Regions from separate parts of the Homo sapiens genome. Here all the other regions are linked to region 3. Evidence: promoter capture Hi-C in 16 types of primary human blood cells and fetal thymus (Javierre and others, 2016). All regions are on one chromosome and are shown on one strand. The core of a region is centred on a gene start or on the middle of the fragment in contact, and the rest is flanking DNA. Distances in the headings are between cores, read along the strand shown.

Region 1 (2,700 bases), core at 144-2,643, 660 kb before region 3:
TACTCATGAGGGTGATAAACATAGTGATCAGCACAAATCTTGGCCAGGCAGTTGCTTTTATAACCCCATTGGCAGCTAGTATCTTCTATTTGACAAAAATAATGTACCACATATGAACCTCTCAGTAAATTCAACTTTCCCCAAATGCCTGCTGAGATTTATCTTGCACAGAATGGATTAAACTTTCAAGGCTTAGAAGAAAAATGTACATTCATCCCCAATTCACCAGCTAAATAGAATGCCAAGCTCACGTCTTAAAGGAAGCCTTTAAGAACGATTCGGATGACCCAGAGAGAGATGACATTCTCTACCCCCCATGATGCCAGGACTGGAGGCTTTAAAAACACCTGTTTGTGCTGGAACCTAATTGGCACTAATCCTATGTGGCAAAATAAGCTGGGGTCTGATAAGGTTCAGAACATTGGTTAGGAATAATTTTTCAGTGTTGCTTAAAATTAGTATTTTTTTATTTTTATTTTATTTTTTGAGACAGGTCTTACTCTGTCACCCAGGCTGGAGTGCAGTAGCATGATCTCGGCTCACTGCAACCTCTGCCTCCTGGGCTCAAGTGATTCTCATGCCTCAGCCTCCTGAGTAGCTGGGGAGCATGCACCTCCATGCCCGGCTAATTTTTGTATTTTTGGTAGAGACAGGGTTTCACCATGTTGCCTAAACTGGTCTTGAACCCCTGAGCTCAAGCAATTCACCTGCCTCAGCCTCCCAAAGTGCTGGGATTACAGGTGTGAGCCACTGCATCCAGCCAAAATTCATATTTTTTAAATTAAACTTTGGTGACTACTATCTGGGAGGTGCTTGGAAGTAGTAAAACAAAACAAAATCTCTGTGCATTTTGTAAATGTCCCTGATTTATTGGCTATTTTCTTATCTATTATTAGTTGACAGTAGATGATAAATATCTATAAATAAAGAAGTAAGCTTTTGCTAGTTCCTCTATAATGTCTAATTTGTGTTGTAGGTAATTTGAAACAGTTGAATCCCAATTGACTTCAGATCAGGAAATATTTGTGTTTATGATTTGGAATAATGTTTTGGTATTAGTCAGGATAATACAGACTATGCTGCAGTAACAAGTACACCCTCAAATCTCAGGCTTAATCCAGTAAAGTTATTTATGACTCTTGTCTAAGTCTTACTCAGTGAGTCACTTCTCCTTGGAGCTCTCCTATAGTGACTCAGGGATCTGGGCTGCTATGTCTTACAGCTCTGCTATCTCATTGTTCCAGCCACACTAAAGGGAGAGAAGAGAACATAGAGAAAACATAGCTGCCTTTGACTGCTTTGGATGAGATGAAACATATTAGTTCTGCTCCTTTTCCCATTAGCAAGTATTCAACCTTTTGTCTCTGTGTGCCCCGAAAAGGGAGAATTGGTGGTCTTTCCACAGTTACTTTTCTGGATTGTTTTGCATATCTTAGGGACCCCTTGCTCCATTTCTGTTTTAAATTTATTGTAGCTCAAACATGCATATGATGGAGATGTGGAAAGATCAGGGTAAATTTTCCACACTTGATAGAAAGTTTTTCTAGGCTGATACCTTTTTTGTCACTCTAAAACGGTACAAGCTGCCTTATTGGAACTCCAGGTCTTAAGTATCTAGATTCATATATCTATGTACTTTCATATCATTATATGTTACAGGTATTAAATCTACAAAATATTTGAATTTTAAATCTTATAAACATAACAAAGATGTCTATATTTTCAAAATCTTAGGTTTTAAAAATAAATCTAGAGAGAGAGCACTGAATCCCTCATTAAATGGATGAATTTCTTCAGGACTAACCTTGCCAAATGGTTTAGGGTACATGAGGGTAGGAACTAAAGCTTATCTGATAATTATTAATTTATTTTTTCAGTCTTCCTGTGGCATCTTCCTGTGTCTCATCAATTATGATAAAAGCATTCAAAGATGTATAATAGCTCAAAGTCTCTCTTTTCCTTACTCCCATTTCTGTCTATGTAACTCAGTTTGTGCCATCTTCTTTCTCCACCTGGCCTTAACCATCTGCACCAAGAAAAAAAAATCCCATTTACATAATAGCATTTTGGCAGATTAGGACTTTCACTGAAGTTTCAGGGTGGGAGGGGCACAGAGTGTGATGGAAAAATGATCAGGTAAGGCCATTTCCTCCACCATCTTGCCTTGGAGCCTATTCCAGCCTAGCTTTGCCCAAGCTCACACTCTCCATGTGTGACCCATTCATTATGTGAATCTTTAAGAAAGTGATTCTGTTTCTGGATCTCCTTGAGAAAAATCCCTTTCTGCTCTTTTCTTTAGGACCCCAGAAATTTTAGAAAACAGATTTTTTTCCATTTTGTCATATTTTATATCTTGTGTACGTCCTAATAAGCTTTCAGGTGATTTACAGTAAAACAAAGTATCACATTAAAACCATCAAGCATTAGAGACAAAGGACAAGAGGCAGGGCAACTATGCTAGATAACCTAGGCTAAGGGAAAACTGTAATTGAGTTAAGAAAAACCTAGCTCTGAGGTTCCTAGCTGCCGAAGTCATTAAGGAAACTAATTAATCTTCATTTTAGTTGATTGAAATGCTTGTTTTTTTTTTAGTTTGCCATGACTCTTCTTAATTTCGGCTGTGTTACCCAATGTTTGGCCCAGCTTTATTTCACTTATCTCTTTAATGTACATTGCTTCTCCGTTTTTGTTCATTGACCC
Region 2 (2,700 bases), core at 174-2,673, 680 kb before region 3:
GTTTTATAAATTTCATGAAATTTTATGCCAAATATATTTATGTGCATTTTCAGAGGAGAGGATTTATAGTTTTAAACAGATTCTCTAGTAATTCCAGACTCTAAGGTTAAGACCCATGGCTTCAGACCAACGTGTGGTGGAGATCTTATCAATAGTGAAGAGTCCAGCTCCAGGTTGAAGTCCTAGGTATGATCTCTCAGGTCTGACCAAAGGCAATTGCAAGGCTTTTCCTGGCAGGTCTCATGGGAGAGAGTTGTCCTCCCCACATCGTAGTGTCTGGAGGAGGGAGGTGCAGTCAAGGATTCAAGTCCCTCCACACTTACTGCTCATACTTACAGATATTTGCATTCATAGCCAAGACATCTCTATTTGGGGTCCTCCTTATCTATAGCCCTGCTAGAGGCGGGGGCACTTTTCAGGTACATCCACCAAGATGTTCCTTATAGGGGGACCTTGACTAAGACTCTTCTCTCCATTGGGTACTCTGACCCAGTACTTTTTAACCCTAGTTCTTCCCCCTCCTTCCTTTTTCTGTTTGTCTCTTGCCTTCACTCTCGTGGTAAATGAATAAAGGCCTGGTTGTTTCTTTCAGTTTGGCTTGTTGTCCTGTTTGATCACCTCGGGATCTGGCAGCTCAACAGGAACCAAGGGATTTTAAGAGGTCTCTTCTCCTTGGAAAGGTAACACTAAAATAGTTATTTAAGGGAGATCTTTACAAAAGAATGTGAATTCTCAGAGACATGGTTAATTCCAAGGAGCCTCAAAATGACTCATGTTCTTAATAATTCAGCTGGATTCTTCTTTACTTGGCCGGTAATACGATTTTAGTTCTATTTGGCATTTGGAAACTGGTGAAGTACTCCATCAAATTCTGGCTTTTTCTTCCAAATGTTCCACCAGGGTCACCTGTGGCCTCTGGTGTTAGTCAGACTATCCAACTACAATTATAGCACAAAACCACTCATTAGAATGGATCCCAGGCTTACACTTACACAATAGGCTCAGAGAACAGCCACACCTGCCTTATGTTAGGAACCTCATCCATGCATTTGTGCACACACTCAGGCTTATATGCATTTATTTCACTCAATAATTTTTACTAATCTATCTGGCATTTTCCAATTCTCTTAGAACCAGGGCCTTACTACTCCTATGTAACCGAGTTGGACAGAAAGATGAGGGCAGGGCATTGGCATGTGTTGAGCAGTGACCTTTAAGAACTATGAAAAATGCTTTTATAAACCTTATCTCCTGTGATCCTTCCATGAGTGTCATTTCATAGAAGAGGATATGGATTCACAGGTTAAGTAACATGCCCAAGGGAGCAAGTGGTGGCTTTGGGATATCATTGCAAAATCTGTGTCCTTTACCCCCGCCCACAGCATTTCCCTGGATGGAGGTCTGCTCTGTCCAACTTACCATTGTCTATTGAAGTTATCCATGATGTAATAAGACTATTAATGTTTGTATTAGTCTGTTCAGGCTGCGATAAAAAAATGCTACAGACTGGGTGGCTTGAACAACAGAAATTTATTTTCTCACAGTTCAGGAGGCTGGAACTCCAAAATCAAGGCCAGTGGGATTGTTTTTTTCTAAGGCCTCTCTCCTTGCCTTGTAGCTGGGCCACCTCCTTGCTGTGAACTCGTGTGGTCTTCTCTCCATGTGTGCACATTCCTAGTGTTTCTCTGTGTGCCCAAATATCCTTTTTTTTTTTTTTTAAAGATGGAGTCTTGCTCTGTCGACCAGGCTGGAGTGCAGTGGCACGATCTCGGCTCACTGCAACCTCTGCCTCCCGGGTTCAAATGATTCTCCTGCCTCAGCGTCCCGAGTAGCTGGGACTACAGGCACACGCCACCATGCTGGGCTAATTTTTTTTTTTTTTTTTGTATTTTTTAGTAGAGACAGGGTTTCACTGTGTTAGCCAGGATGGTCTCGATCTCCTGACCTCGTGATCTGCCCTCCTCGGCCTCCCAAAGTGCTGGGATTACAGGCATGAGCCACCGCACCCGACCACCAAATATCCTTTTCTTATACAAACTCCACTTAGATTTTGTTAGGTCCCACCCTACCAACCTCTTTAACCTAATCATCTCTTTCCAGGCCATATCTCCAGATGCAATCACATTCTTGGGTTCTGGAGGTTAGGGCTTCAACATGTGAATTTGGGAAGTTAATAGTTCAGCCTATAACAATGTTCCTATGGCCAGAGTTGGGCTCTGGGCTGTGTACGACCCAGGATCATCCCGAGGGCACAGTGGGACTCAATGAAAATCAGAAATTCCCTCTTGTCTCCTCCCCTACAAGTCTTCCACACAGGGAAATTTTATTAGAACTGACAAACAGGCTGGGTGTGGTGGCTCAACCTGTAATCCCAGCACTTTGGGAGACTGAGGTGGCCAGATTGCTTGAGCCTAGGAGTTCGAGACCAGCCTGGGCAACAAGTCAAGACCCCGTCTCTACAAAAAATACAAAAATTAGTCAGACATGGAGGTGCGTGCCTTTTGTCCCAGCTATTTGAGGGCCTGAGGCAGAATTGCTTGAGCCTGGGAGGTTGAGCCTGTAGTGAGCCAAGATTGCGCCACTGCACTCTAGCCTGGGTGACAGAGCAAGACCTTGTCTCAAAGAAACAAAACAAAAATTGACAAGAGAAGGTATACTGTGAGAAAAAGAGTAAGTGGCAGCTGATGGAACCACTTCCTC
Region 3 (2,744 bases), core at 150-2,649:
AAGTGCTCTGAAACAGTGTGCTTTGGAATGAAGGAAGTTAATTTTCAGGTAGTTAAGAGGCTCTCTTTTCGATAACCATTGTGAATGCCATTTCCCTTAGTTAAACCAAATAAAATGTCAAATTCAAAAGAAGAAGAATAGACACAGATAAGAAGCCTCTTCCCCCCATTAATCTAAACATGGATTACCAATATTCTTTCTCTTTCTTGGGCTAGGAAGTGAAATATACTTCAAATGTATGAAGATCAGTAAGGCATAGAATTCCCCAGTTGAACACTATTCAGTGTGAATATTGTTAGGAAAAGTAAATAAGGCTTTGTTAGGCTTTTATATCTTAGTATAAATAAGCTTAATAGTTTCTTTTCTGAGACAAGTTAAAGTTGAATTTACTTTTATATTTGCAAGGTATTTGCAACTTGACTCTGAATAAGAAAACCATAATTAAAGCTTCAATTTTGCTTCTATCTTACTGAGAAATTAGGGGAAAGTTAAAGCTCTCTGAGAGGTAATTTTTCCATGTATGGGTTGAACAGGGGATGTTTAAAGACCCATATAACTCTAATACTTCAAGTTAAAAGCTTCAGAAAAATGTTAACAATTCCTCAAAGTTTAAGTATAAATTAATAATTGCAGCTAAGAATCTGTCCTTTTATCCAGAAAAAAAAATTGAAACATAAAACAAAATAAAATTTATGAGTTGATTTAGAGCATAACCATAGAATAGTGCTTGCTACAAGATAGGTTCATCAGAAAATATCTGAAAAACTTCAATTTAAAGTCTTACTAAAAAGTTTGTGTTTATTGTTTCCTAAGTGAGCATTGTCTAAAGTAGCCTCTTGTTAAGGAAGATGCCTGATATGGACACCCAACATAATGCTGCACTCCTCAGTTCTGATCCTGAGCTCTTAAGGTACTAGTAAAAGGTTTAACTGACAGATTGCTGAGGCTACTGAATACAGTTAGTATTTGGAGAAATCCTCCGTTTCTGGTAACAAATAATATGCTTGTGTTAAAAAGAAGGACAATCTATTTTGAGTAGTAACCACTGATGCTCCTGATAACTTAAGGGAAGTAAAGAAAGAATTTTGTGTAATTCCATTTGGTACAATAAGGACTCACTGTACTCAAATAATAAGAGGCAAGATACTCATAAATGTGATGACATATAACATTGAAGGTCAAACCACAGTGAATTCCAGGAAAAAAAAAAACTGAGTGGCTTCCTTCTAAGTGTTCCAGAGTGACTAAAGTACAAGTAAGTATATGAAGATGTGATAAATTAAACAATAACCTAGGGAAGCATTCTTATAATAAAAAGTGAGCAAGGAGAAGGGAGTGTCGAGACAGTGGACACACCCAGGTCTAAGAGCATATATAACTTGGAGTCCAGACTATGACATTCAAACTCAGAGAATCTTTCCACTATAACTCAGCTGAACTCACATCTCCCGTCAACATGTCCTACAACTGCTGCTCTGGAAACTTCTCCTCCCGCTCCTGTGGTGACTACCTGCGCTACCCAGCATCCTCACGTGGCTTTTCCTACCCCAGCAATCTGGTCTACAGCACTGACCTCTGCTCTCCCAGCACCTGCCAGCTGGGTTCCTCTCTCTATAGGGGCTGTCAGGAGATCTGCTGGGAGCCCACCAGCTGCCAGACGTCCTATGTGGAGTCCAGCCCCTGCCAGACCTCCTGCTACCGCCCCAGAACCTCCTTGCTCTGCAGTCCTTGCAAGACGACTTACTCTGGGTCTCTAGGCTTTGGATCCAGCAGCTGCCGCTCCCTGGGCTATGGATCGAGGAGCTGCTACTCAGTGGGCTGTGGGTCCAGTGGTGTCAGATCCCTGGGTTATGGAAGCTGTGGCTTCCCTTCCCTCGGCTATGGATCTGGATTCTGCCGCCCAACCTACTTGGCTTCTAGGAGCTGCCAGTCTCCTTGTTACAGACCAGCCTATGGATCAACCTTCTGCAGATCAACTTGCTGAATTTCCAGACCTTTTAAGCAAAGTGTCTCAGTCTCTACGTAGAGCTGTTATCATAGGCATTTCCAGCAATGTGAGCTAACCCCTCTTACTACTAGCTCTTCATCCTTTCTCTGGCATCAAGTACTGGCTGGACAGGCTAGTTCTTTCAGACTGTGAAATTAATGAATGAGCAAAATATAGAGTCAAATGTCTATAATTTTGAAACAAGTGATTCGTTATCACGTAAGTTCATCTTATAAAGTATATGGAAGTTCAGTTTTGTTTCACGTAATAAATTCATTTACTGTTGATTCCAATATGTTCTCTTTGTCTTTTATTGGTTTCCAAAGTTTGATTTGTGATCTGTTTTGGGGGCTCCAGGCCCCCAGACGTCTTTTCCTTGGACATCCATTTCCATCGGTAATGTCATCAGGCCTAGTGTGTGGGGAGATTCTCCGGGCATGCCAGTGCCTAAAAGACTGAGCAAGTGCATGTCTTCTGCCATGAAAACTGGTTGGATTCTTAACAGAATTATTGAGAGTACACTCATAATGGTGGTGTGTTTTCAAGGAAGACACATTTTGCTGACAATCATATTTGCTTTTTGTTTACATTTTTAAAAGAGTATTTAGAGTTTTCTCAGAAGATGTCAACTAGGTGATTAAATATAAAATTATGAAATATTTGAATAAATCTGAAATGTTATGATGGAAAAGGGAAAATATGAAATGTTAGGTACTGGAGGACATTACGGTTGTGTTTAAATATAGGAGAAAATTAA

What was found. Contacts are between HindIII fragments. The CHiCAGO score rates a contact against its expected background, and 5 or more counts as called.
Region 1: a fragment that was not itself captured here is called in contact with the fragment with the promoter of KRTAP13-2 in region 3 in 1 of 17 cell types (activated CD4 T cells); the score reaches 5.5 in activated CD4 T cells.
Region 2: a fragment that was not itself captured here is called in contact with the fragment with the promoter of KRTAP13-2 in region 3 in 4 of 17 cell types (naive CD8 T cells, M1 macrophages, activated CD4 T cells and 1 more); the score reaches 6.4 in naive CD8 T cells.

What each region holds. Positions count from the first base shown.
Region 1 is chr21:31,033,003-31,035,702 of GRCh38, reverse strand. LOC105372774 (a long non-coding RNA gene) reads right to left here. Exons shown (of 3, transcript XR_937657.2): 2 at 1,155-1,249. Among named protein-coding and RNA genes, the nearest start is that of KRTAP19-8, 4.1 kb to the left of the region's middle. The HindIII fragment of the contact is 909 bases long and covers 939-1,847 here.
Region 2 is chr21:31,053,033-31,055,732 of GRCh38, reverse strand. No RefSeq gene overlaps it. Among named protein-coding and RNA genes, the nearest start is that of KRTAP19-8, 16 kb to the right of the region's middle. The HindIII fragment of the contact is 7,679 bases long and covers 1-2,700 here.
Region 3 is chr21:30,370,926-30,373,669 of GRCh38, reverse strand. KRTAP13-2 (keratin associated protein 13-2) reads left to right here and starts at 1,399. Exons shown (of 1, transcript NM_181621.4): 1 at 1,399-2,280. The coding sequence starts at 1,457. The coding sequence ends at 1,984. The HindIII fragment of the contact is 2,756 bases long and covers 581-2,744 here.